Regions from separate parts of the Homo sapiens genome. Here regions 1 and 3 are each linked to region 2. Evidence: promoter capture Hi-C in 16 types of primary human blood cells and fetal thymus (Javierre and others, 2016). All regions are on one chromosome and are shown on one strand. Each heading gives the region's core, a stretch centred on a gene start or on the middle of the fragment in contact. The rest is flanking DNA. Distances are from core to core; before and after follow the strand shown. Region 1 overlaps LOC107986858 (a long non-coding RNA gene). Region 2 holds the start of GIMAP6 (GTPase, IMAP family member 6). Region 3 overlaps REPIN1-AS1 (REPIN1 antisense RNA 1).

The links. Contacts are between HindIII fragments. The CHiCAGO score rates a contact against its expected background, and 5 or more counts as called.
Region 1: a contact is called between a fragment that was not itself captured here and the fragment with the promoter of GIMAP6 in region 2, in 1 of 17 cell types (neutrophils). The highest score is 7.4, in neutrophils.
Region 3: a fragment that was not itself captured here is called in contact with the fragment with the promoter of GIMAP6 in region 2 in 2 of 17 cell types (activated CD4 T cells and non-activated CD4 T cells); the score reaches 6.6 in activated CD4 T cells.

The regions. Positions count from the first base shown.
Region 1 is chr7:150,343,854-150,346,977 of GRCh38, reverse strand. The region is part of intron 2 of LOC107986858 (a long non-coding RNA gene); the gene reads right to left. Among named protein-coding and RNA genes, the nearest start is that of RARRES2, 3.8 kb to the right of the region's middle. The HindIII fragment of the contact is 2,219 bases long and covers 699-2,917 here.
Region 2 is chr7:150,630,868-150,633,635 of GRCh38, reverse strand. It overlaps GIMAP6 (GTPase, IMAP family member 6), which reads left to right and starts at 1,251. Exons shown (of 3, transcript NM_024711.6): 1 at 1,251-1,467. RefSeq lists enhancers at 1,301-1,390, 1,401-1,490, 1,761-1,840. The HindIII fragment of the contact is 8,992 bases long and covers 1-1,386 here.
Region 3 is chr7:150,361,322-150,364,344 of GRCh38, reverse strand. REPIN1-AS1 (REPIN1 antisense RNA 1) reads left to right here. Exons shown (of 4, transcript NR_183429.1): 4 at 168-1,687. Among named protein-coding and RNA genes, the nearest start is that of REPIN1, 6.0 kb to the left of the region's middle. RefSeq lists a silencer at 165-214. The HindIII fragment of the contact is 2,705 bases long and covers 342-3,023 here.

The DNA of each region.
Region 1 (3,124 bases), core at 559-3,058, 290 kb after region 2:
CTTGCTAAAGTCACCGCTGGCCTCGCTAGGTCCAGTGCTTTCTGGCATCATCTTCCTAAACCTCTGGGCACACACTGCCAGCCGTGCCTCCTCCTCCCAACATCCCCTTCCCCACCTCTGTGACACCACATGCTCCTGACCTGCCACTGAGCTCCTACCGGCTCATCTTCATCCACCCACCCCTCTTACTCCATGTTGGATCCCCTCCCAGTGAGGTCCTAACCTCTTCCCTCCTCACCCTCCTACCGCCAGGGCAAGCTACTTCCTTCTCCAATCCCCAGTCTCATCTCTGCTCTGATCTCGATCTGCATGCAGATAACACAGTTTCCCATCTGTAGCCAGAGCTCCACCAGCCCTGTTCAGTCAACATCTCCACTGGCATGTTCCACAGACACCTCACACTTCTCTCCTCACTGCCCTCCTGAGTCTCTCTCTCCCTGAGGATCAAAACCATGTCTACAGCTGTTCAAGCCAGAAACCTGGGATTCACCCCTCTCTGTTGACCTCGACCCCAACATCTTATCAATCACCAAACCCTGGTGCTTTAGTCCTGAGGTATTTCTGGACTTTGTTTTCCCATCTTCACTGCCTCCAGTTTTGTCCCTGCCACATTCGTCTCTCACCCGGACAATCACAATTATCTCCTGCTGAGATTTATTCCCTTTTATCCACTCTCCACACAGCAGCCAGAGTAAGCTTTCAGAAATGCTATTGGGACCAGGCGCGGTGGCTCACACCTGTAATCTCAGCAGTTTGGAAAGGTAAGGTAGGAGGATCACTTGAGCTCAGAAGTTCAAGACCAGCCTGGGCAACAAAACAAAACCTCCTCTCTCCTGAAAAAAAAAATAATAATAATAAAAACTAGCTGGGTGAGGTGGTCCTGTAGTTCTAGCTACTGGGAGGCTGAGGCAGGAAGATCAATAGAGCCTAGAACATGGAGGCTGCAGTGAGCTCTGATTATGCCATTGCACTCCAGCCTGGGCAACAGAATAAGACTTTGTCTCAAAAAAAGAGAAAAGAAAAGAAGACAAAAGAAAAGCTGTTGCTTTGCTTTCTGATTTTAAAAGTATTAAGGCCAAGCACAGTGGCTCAAGCCTGTAATTTCAGCACTTTGAGAGTCCAAGGTGGGTGGATTGCTGAACCTAGAAGTTTGAGATCAGCCTGGGCAATGTGACAAAATCCTGTCTCTAGAAAAAAATACAAAAATTAGCCTAGGATGATGGCATGCACCTGTGGTCCAAGCTACTTGGGAGGCTGAGGTGGGAGGATCGCTTGAGCACAGGAGGTTGAGGCTGCAGTGAGCCATGATTGAGCCACTGCTCTCCAGCTTGAACGACAGAGCAAGACCCTGTCTCAAAAAATAGTTTTTAAAGTTTTTTTATATTTTAATAGACAAATTATCCACAAGTTATAAAAATTTAAAAGTACAAAGGGAGTACAGTTTTCCTGCCTCTGTTTTCCCCAGCTGGACAGATCCTCTCCTCACAGGCAAACACTGTTATAAGTTTCTTGTTTTTCCCTTCTAGAAATATTCCATGCATTTACAAACACAAAAATTTGTTCATTTTTAGTTTTAGTTTTTACTCACATAATTGGTAACACATGCTCTGCCTGCAATATCCAATATGGTAGCCACCAGCCACAGGTTTAGGAACACTTGCCATGTGGCTGGTGTGACTGAGGTATTTATTGGAATGCTAAAACAAGAGATTGATGCTTCCAATGTTGCTTCATTTCACTTTAGGGTACATATTGAAGATATTTGTGCTCAGTTTTCTGAAATTTATTCTATGCAAGTCTCATGGCTACAGCCATTAAAACTAATTCCGTATTTAAGTGGAAATGCTATGAATCACTGCTGGTTTTATGGAACTGTTGAAAGCAATGAAAGATAATGAATTTAATGATCTTTTCTTTACCAAAGCTCATTGTCAGGGTTGTAGAAGAGTTCTCCTAAGATTTACTGTACTTTTAACTAACTCCAAGATTTTCTTGAGACAGAAGCCATGATTACCAAATATACAACAATAAGTATTATTATTATTTGTTTTGGGGACAAGGTTTTGCTCTGTGGCCAAGTCTGAGAGTGGTGGCTTGAGCCTATAATCCCAACACTTTGGGAGGCTGAGGTGGGAGGGTCATGTAGTGGCATGATCATAGCTCACTGCAACCTTGACTTCCCAGGCTCAAGTGATCGTCCCCCGCCAGCCTCCTGAGTAGCCAGGACTACAGACTTTTGCCACCACACTCAGCTAATTAAACTTTTTTTTTTTTGTAAAGATAGCCTCTCTCTATATTGCCCAGGCTGGTCTTGAACTCCTGGGTTCAGTGATCCACCCACCTTGGACTCCCAAAGTGCTAGGATTACAGGCATGAGTCACTACTCTCAACCCAAATATTCAATAATTAAAAATAAAAAAGTCAGTGTTTTCTCACCAATACCACACTACATATAAATGGGCTAAATTTGAATATCCAAGGAGATGAAACCTCATTTGTGACCTAGCCAGATAAATATAAGCATTTCAAATTAAATATTTTCATAATACTGACAAATAATTACAATCTACATACTTTTGTCACAAGAATCAACATACAGAGGTTTTAATTGTAATATACAGCATTGTGTAAATTGGCAAAATTTCAAGAAAAATGTGAAGAATTCTTAGTTGATATTGATAAATTTAGAATGGCTTTTGAATTTATGCAATATCATTTTTGAATTTATGCTAATGGTACCGAATTGACACAAGTTGGAAAATGTACTTAACTTCAATAGGTGTAGTTTTGCAACTGATATGCTCTTACTTCAAAGTCAAATCACTTCTTCTAAAAAAAACTATTTTTGTCAATGTGGTTGCAAATATTAAAGGACAATGTTTTTTGGTACTCAGTTCAGTTATTGGAAAACTAAGCTTGGAACAACTGGATACGTGAGTCTACTTTTTTAGCTGTCATGACCAGGAAGATCATTAACCATCATTAAATAGTGAAGTCCTGTTGTTGCTCCCCTGGACTGGGACATGTTACCTGGAGCTGAGCTCATGAATATGCCCTAAGTAGTCCTTTCACACATCCACACCTATGAGTGCTCTGCAGTAGGACTGTCCACCTCTTTGGGGTG
Region 2 (2,768 bases), core at 2-2,501:
AGCTACTCAGGAGGCTGAGGCAGGAGAATGGCGTGAACCCAGGAGGTGGAACTTGCAGTGAGCCAAGACCGCACCACTGCACTCCAACCTGGGCGACAGAGCGAGACTCCGTCTCGAGAAAAAAAAAAAAAAAAGAATTAATCATGTTACACCAGGCGCGGTGGCTCACGCCCATAATCCCAACACTCTGGGAGGCCGAGGTGGGCAGATAACTTGAGGTCAGGAGTTTGAGACCAACCTGGCCAACATGGTAAAACCCCGTCTGTATTAAAAATACAAAATATTAGCCGGGTGTGCGGACGCCTGTAATTCCAGCTATTTGGGAGGCTGAGGCATGAGAATCGCTTGAACCTGGGAGGATGAGGTTGCAGTGAACTGAGATCACACCACTGCACTCCAGCCTGGGTGACAGGATGACATTCTGTCTCAAAAAAAAAAAATTAATTGTGTCAGGGTATTTACAGAATAATTTAAGTAGAACATTAAAAGATATATATATGTACACACACACATACTATGTAACAATTTTAATAAATACACCATGATTATCAACCAGAACAGAACCAAAGAAAATTAGAACTATTATAGTAGATTGAGTGGAATTTTTTTAGGGAATCTTAACATTTTAAAATCATGTGGTAACAATATCATCACCTATGCTCCTATGTTCTGAATTTCTTCCTTCAATGGCTTCCCTTTAGCCACAGTTATCAGATCTGTCAGTAAAGTCCTAGAAAACATGTTTTTGAGGATGCTGAGGTGTTTTCTCCCTTGGCCTGTGTTTAAAATATTGTTCTTCCCCCATAACAAGTGCTCTCTTTAATCCTACATTTTAGACATTCTTTTGTATTTTCCCTTTTCTTATAGTGCAGATCTTCTAGAAGCTGTAACAATTGTAATTACCAATGATTCATGCCTTAGAGGTAATGAGTGTCAGACCTTGTCCTGAGAGAAACTATTAAAGGAAGGAGAGGTTGGGGAAGAAAGGAGACAATGACTGTTTGCCCCAATACTGAGGCATAGAAGTTCCCTGGGGAAGAGGTGGGGTTCAGAAAAGAGAGATCAGGGAAAGTCACTCCTCCTGACACAAATCTTTCTGAGGCATCTGCCTCTTTTTAAGCTCTGAGTTCTAGTTATCCTGGCTCAGGATAAAAATAATCCCACCACTGGTATCCTCCCTTTTTCTACTTCCGAGGCTGCAAAGTGCAACAGCAGACTCTTCTGACTCAGGAAGGCCGGTGCTCCTACCCACTTCCTGTTCCTCCATCTCCAGCGGACACTGCTCTTTCAAGGGCAGGTCTCCAGCCCAGCTCTCTGAAAACATTTTGCTGAAAATATAAGCAAACATCGGCCTTGTCCTCCTTGTGTTCATACACTGTGGAAGCTTTTCTCTGCCTCCTCCGTGAGAGTGCGTGGCCGGGAGACCAGAAACGTGGTCCTTTCTCTTGCCTGTGAGCTGGTGCAGAGGTAAGTCTGAGTATTTGTGCGTGTCATATTTGGATGTGTATGTGTGGGTGTTTGTGTTGTACATGTGTGTTTACATGTTTGTATGTGTTAACATGAATGTGTGTGAGTGATGTTTGTGTGTGTGATGTTTGTGTTGTGTGTGTATGTGAGTGTTGTGTGTGTGTTGTGTATGTATATTTGTGTTTGTGTATGTGTTTGTGTGTTCACCTGCATGTGTGTGAGTGGTACATGTGTTTTGTGTATGTGTGTGTGTTGTGTATTTGTGTGTGCTGTGGTGTGTGCAGGTTTGTAATGTGATAAAAAGAGCTGTGACCAACACGTCTGGAGAACTTTTTGCCTTGTGACAAAGTCACTGTTTAATATTTGGCAAGATGCTTCTCTGAGTTTTGCTTTCTTCCAGAGCAATATGACAAGGATGGTACTATCTGTTCCATCTTCTGTGTTGGAGACAATGCACACTGTGGCCAACATGGGAGGTGCCATTCCGGGGAGGGTCTAGGAGGAGGCAGGGAGGTGCCTTGCGTGCAGACCCATTCCCCGAACCCTGCGAAGGCACAGTGCAGGTTCCTGCATGCCACAGCCTAGTCCCACCCGGCTGTTGTTTCCTGTTAAGCTGCCTGCCCGTTCTCTCTAAAGGAGGAATGAGATTACATTGGTAAAGTGCTGCCTCAATTTCCACCAGGGATGTAAGGAAGCCAGGGACAAAGAGATTGAGAGGCCACCAGTTAGGAAGAACTAACTCCCTTTGGTAGGTGAAATATTGTACTCCTTCCAGAATCTGGCTGTTCAGGTCTGAGTAAGGCTGTCCGCCTGGCCTGCTTCTTCTTTCTTCCTAGAAAGTCAACAGACCTTCCTGGACTCCCTCCATGCCCAGCCCAGCACTGCAAAATTGATCTTTACCAATCATAAAGCAATATCCGCATATATACTTCTGGGATCTGGGGAGGACTGGAGTGTTTGCCAGGTGAACAGAATAGAACAAACATCTAACAATGTGGCAATGAGAAAAACATGTCTATCAGGTTCCCCTGGACTTAGGTTTCCCCACACCCCAGACCCTTCATCTGGATCTGTTTCATCTGGTTGTGAATGTCCTACATGATCTGGAAAAACAGTCATGGACCATGCAACTTCCTCCTCAGTCCCACAGAGAAAATCCAGCAGAGAGAACCTTATGGGATCTTGGCACAGAGAACTGTGTTAGTCTATGAAGCCAGGACACATTGCTGTCATGGGAAAGGGGACAGGAGTTCCTGGTTGGGAATGATGTGGCCCTAATTTGCAAAAAGGACTAAGAATTG
Region 3 (3,023 bases), core at 445-2,944, 270 kb after region 2:
CTTCTCCATTCCTAAAATTCCACTTGATCCCTACGTTCCTGCAAGAGCCTGCGAAGCAGAATTCCTTCATAGACTCACAAAGTATCTTCTCCTTGTCTGTAATCCGTCTTTCATAGCAGAAAGGTTCTTCATTAAACAAGGCCCTAACCTTCTTTCTCTCTCCCCAGCCTCCATTAGAGGAAATGTCTCTTCTCCCAGTCAGGAGTTAACCACCTGCTGTAACTTCCTCTTTAGCATCGCCAGAGGAAACTAAGTATGACTGTGCCTTCACTCTGCAGAAAGAAAATGAGTGGCAAAGGAGTTGCGAAGGGATTCCTGAGCCTTTATGCCAGCTGGAAGCTTAAGGCCTTGGTATTTGAGACTTCACCCTTCAAAATGTCTTGGAGGATGGCCCAGCAACCAGCCAAATGGCCCAATGGCCTAGCCCAGTGGAGACGGTCTCAGCTTTTGACAAGCTAGCCGGAGAAAGGGCTGGACAGGAAGGGGCCCACTGGACAGCGAATATTGATAGGGCCCCTGGGAGGATCAATTTTCCCCTCCAACAGTGCCTGGCTCCCATTATCAGATTAGATGCAAAGTGGGCTGGCATGCCAGGGGGTGACAGGAACAGTGTCTCCAGAAATCCTCTGTGAAGACACCCAAGTATTGTTCAGAAGTGGCCCTGTATCTGGAAGAGGGAAAACTGCACCCACTTCTTGCAGACATACAGTTCCAGCTCCCCCCACAGGACTTGCTCATACATCCAACAAATATTTAATCAGTGCCCACCATCTGCCACTGTGCCAGGTGCCCGGCCTCATCATGAGTCAGGCAGAGGTGGTCTGTGCAGTTTTCCCACAATGTGAGAGGGTGCTGAGAAGACTTTTAACGCTTATTTAACTACGGAAATAACTCTTGGTTTGGTACCTACTACAAAATAAAAACAAGCGCTTGTTGATAATTTCTGGATGGATGACTGTGGAAAGCTGGAGGAGACTGAGGATCAATTTGCTCTAATGAACCTTCCCTTGACTATCATCTCCGTTACCTCCTGCCGCATCCCTACGGCAAATATGCAAGACTCTCACGCAGCTAATTTCCAGGGGTTTGCAGTCTGGGGAGGAAGCAGAAAGCACATCCCTCACTGACCCTGAGGAGGGGCAAATCTCTGGTAGCAGTCACAGGTACGTGCTGTACACACTTCCCATCCTTTGAGCCTTCCCAGCTGGAGAGCACCAAGAGAACGCAGTTGGGGAGGCCCCGAAAGATGAAGGGTTGTTGAGCTTGAAGGCAGTGAAAAAGTAAATGGAAGAAAGCTCTCTGCCCTCCACTGCCTAAATGCAGGATATAGATTTAGAAGGATAAAAGGGGTCTGCTCCCTCTCTCGACCAGGGAAAAGTTAACCACTGAAGACAACTTTAGACTCTTATGGGCCTGGAGCTGGAACCAGAGGAATGGACATGAAGGCGCTTTACTAACTCTATTTATCTGCCAGTTACTTACCTTTCTACAAGTTCTCCCCTTAGACACTCAAAGTTCTTTTCCTTTGTCCTGTCGCTTCCCTAAAACTTGGCTTTTCTTTGTTGAAGATGCTATACAAGCTGGAATTCAAAGCTACCACTTTGAGAACTACTCAATTCCTGCGTGTCTCCCAGGCAGATGTGAAATACACATGTTAATAAACTTCCACTGGTTTTTCTCTTGTTAATCTGTCTTTTGTAACAGGAGTCCGTTCCAACCACAAATCTAGGGGGGCTGAGGAAAAACCCCTACAGTGGCACACACTGAAGAAGGCCCCCTCACTTTCCAAGGTTTCCCATCTCAGGTGGAAGGAGGCCTGCTAAGTCATGTGAAAATTATTCAGGAAAAGATCAAAGTGCTTCTACTTCTGCAGTTCTAAAAATATCTTTAAGTGCATGAAAACATGTATAATGCACGACAGGGACGCACGCTGTAAGAGTAGCCCTGGGCTGAGATCAAATGTCAGTCCCCAAATTCCACCACACAAGATGCTTTCCTGCCGCATATCTAGTTCCCAGAGTCTCTTGCTAAAAGAAAAAAGAATCCAGCTGGTAAAATGAGTATCAGGTAGATGGCTCAGATTTCCTGCAGAGGAAACTGGTACATGCGTGTGCCCCATAACGGTGAGGCCTGCTTCCCACCCTTATCCCCCACCCCTGCACCATAGTCTCCCTCACCAGGACTCTGCAGCAGTGGCCAGCCACTCCTCCTGCCTCCGCTCTGGCCCCATAAAGTCCTGTCTCCACTTAACCAGCTTGGCCCTTTAAACATGAATCAGATCAAGCAGCTCCCTTGCTAGGGAACTCCGACGCCTCCTGCTAACATTTGGACTGACATCCAACCCGCGGCCATGGCCTGCAGGGTTCCTGCAGACCTCCATGCGCCTGCCAGACACTGCCCCAGCAGCCGCCACTCATTTCCACCTTAGGGCCTTTGGAGTTGCCTAGACGATCCTCCTCCAGGTCCGCATGGACTTCCGTTCTTCACTGTATTCAGATTTTGGCTGAAGTCTCCTCGCCTCAAAACACGCTTCCCAACAAACCCCTCTAAAATAGCTTCACACCTAGATGAGATTCCTAGGACTGCTCTAACAAATGACCACCAGCTCGGCCTGAAATAACTGGCATTTATTATCTTACACGGCTGGAAGTCAGAAGCCCAGAATGTTTCACTGGGCCAAAGTCAAGGTGTCGGCAGGGCCCCACTCCCTCCAAAGTCTCTAGGGGAGAATCCTTCCTTGCCTTTTCTGGCTGGAAGAGCTGCTTCCCAGGCATTCTTGGGCTCGAGGCCCCTCCCTCTGTCTCCCAAGCCCTCAGCGCAGCATCTTGCTACACTTGTCACTTTGCCGGCCTGTGCTGCAGCTGAATCTCCCCCTGTACCCCCGCCAACACAAAGACACATGTAATTACCCAGATAGCCAGGAGAATTGTAAAAGCAAATACAAATCAAAAAGAATAAAAATAAGTTTTCTTTCTCCCTGGTGAAAAAAGGCAGAGATGCTCCTCACCAACACCCCCTTTTCT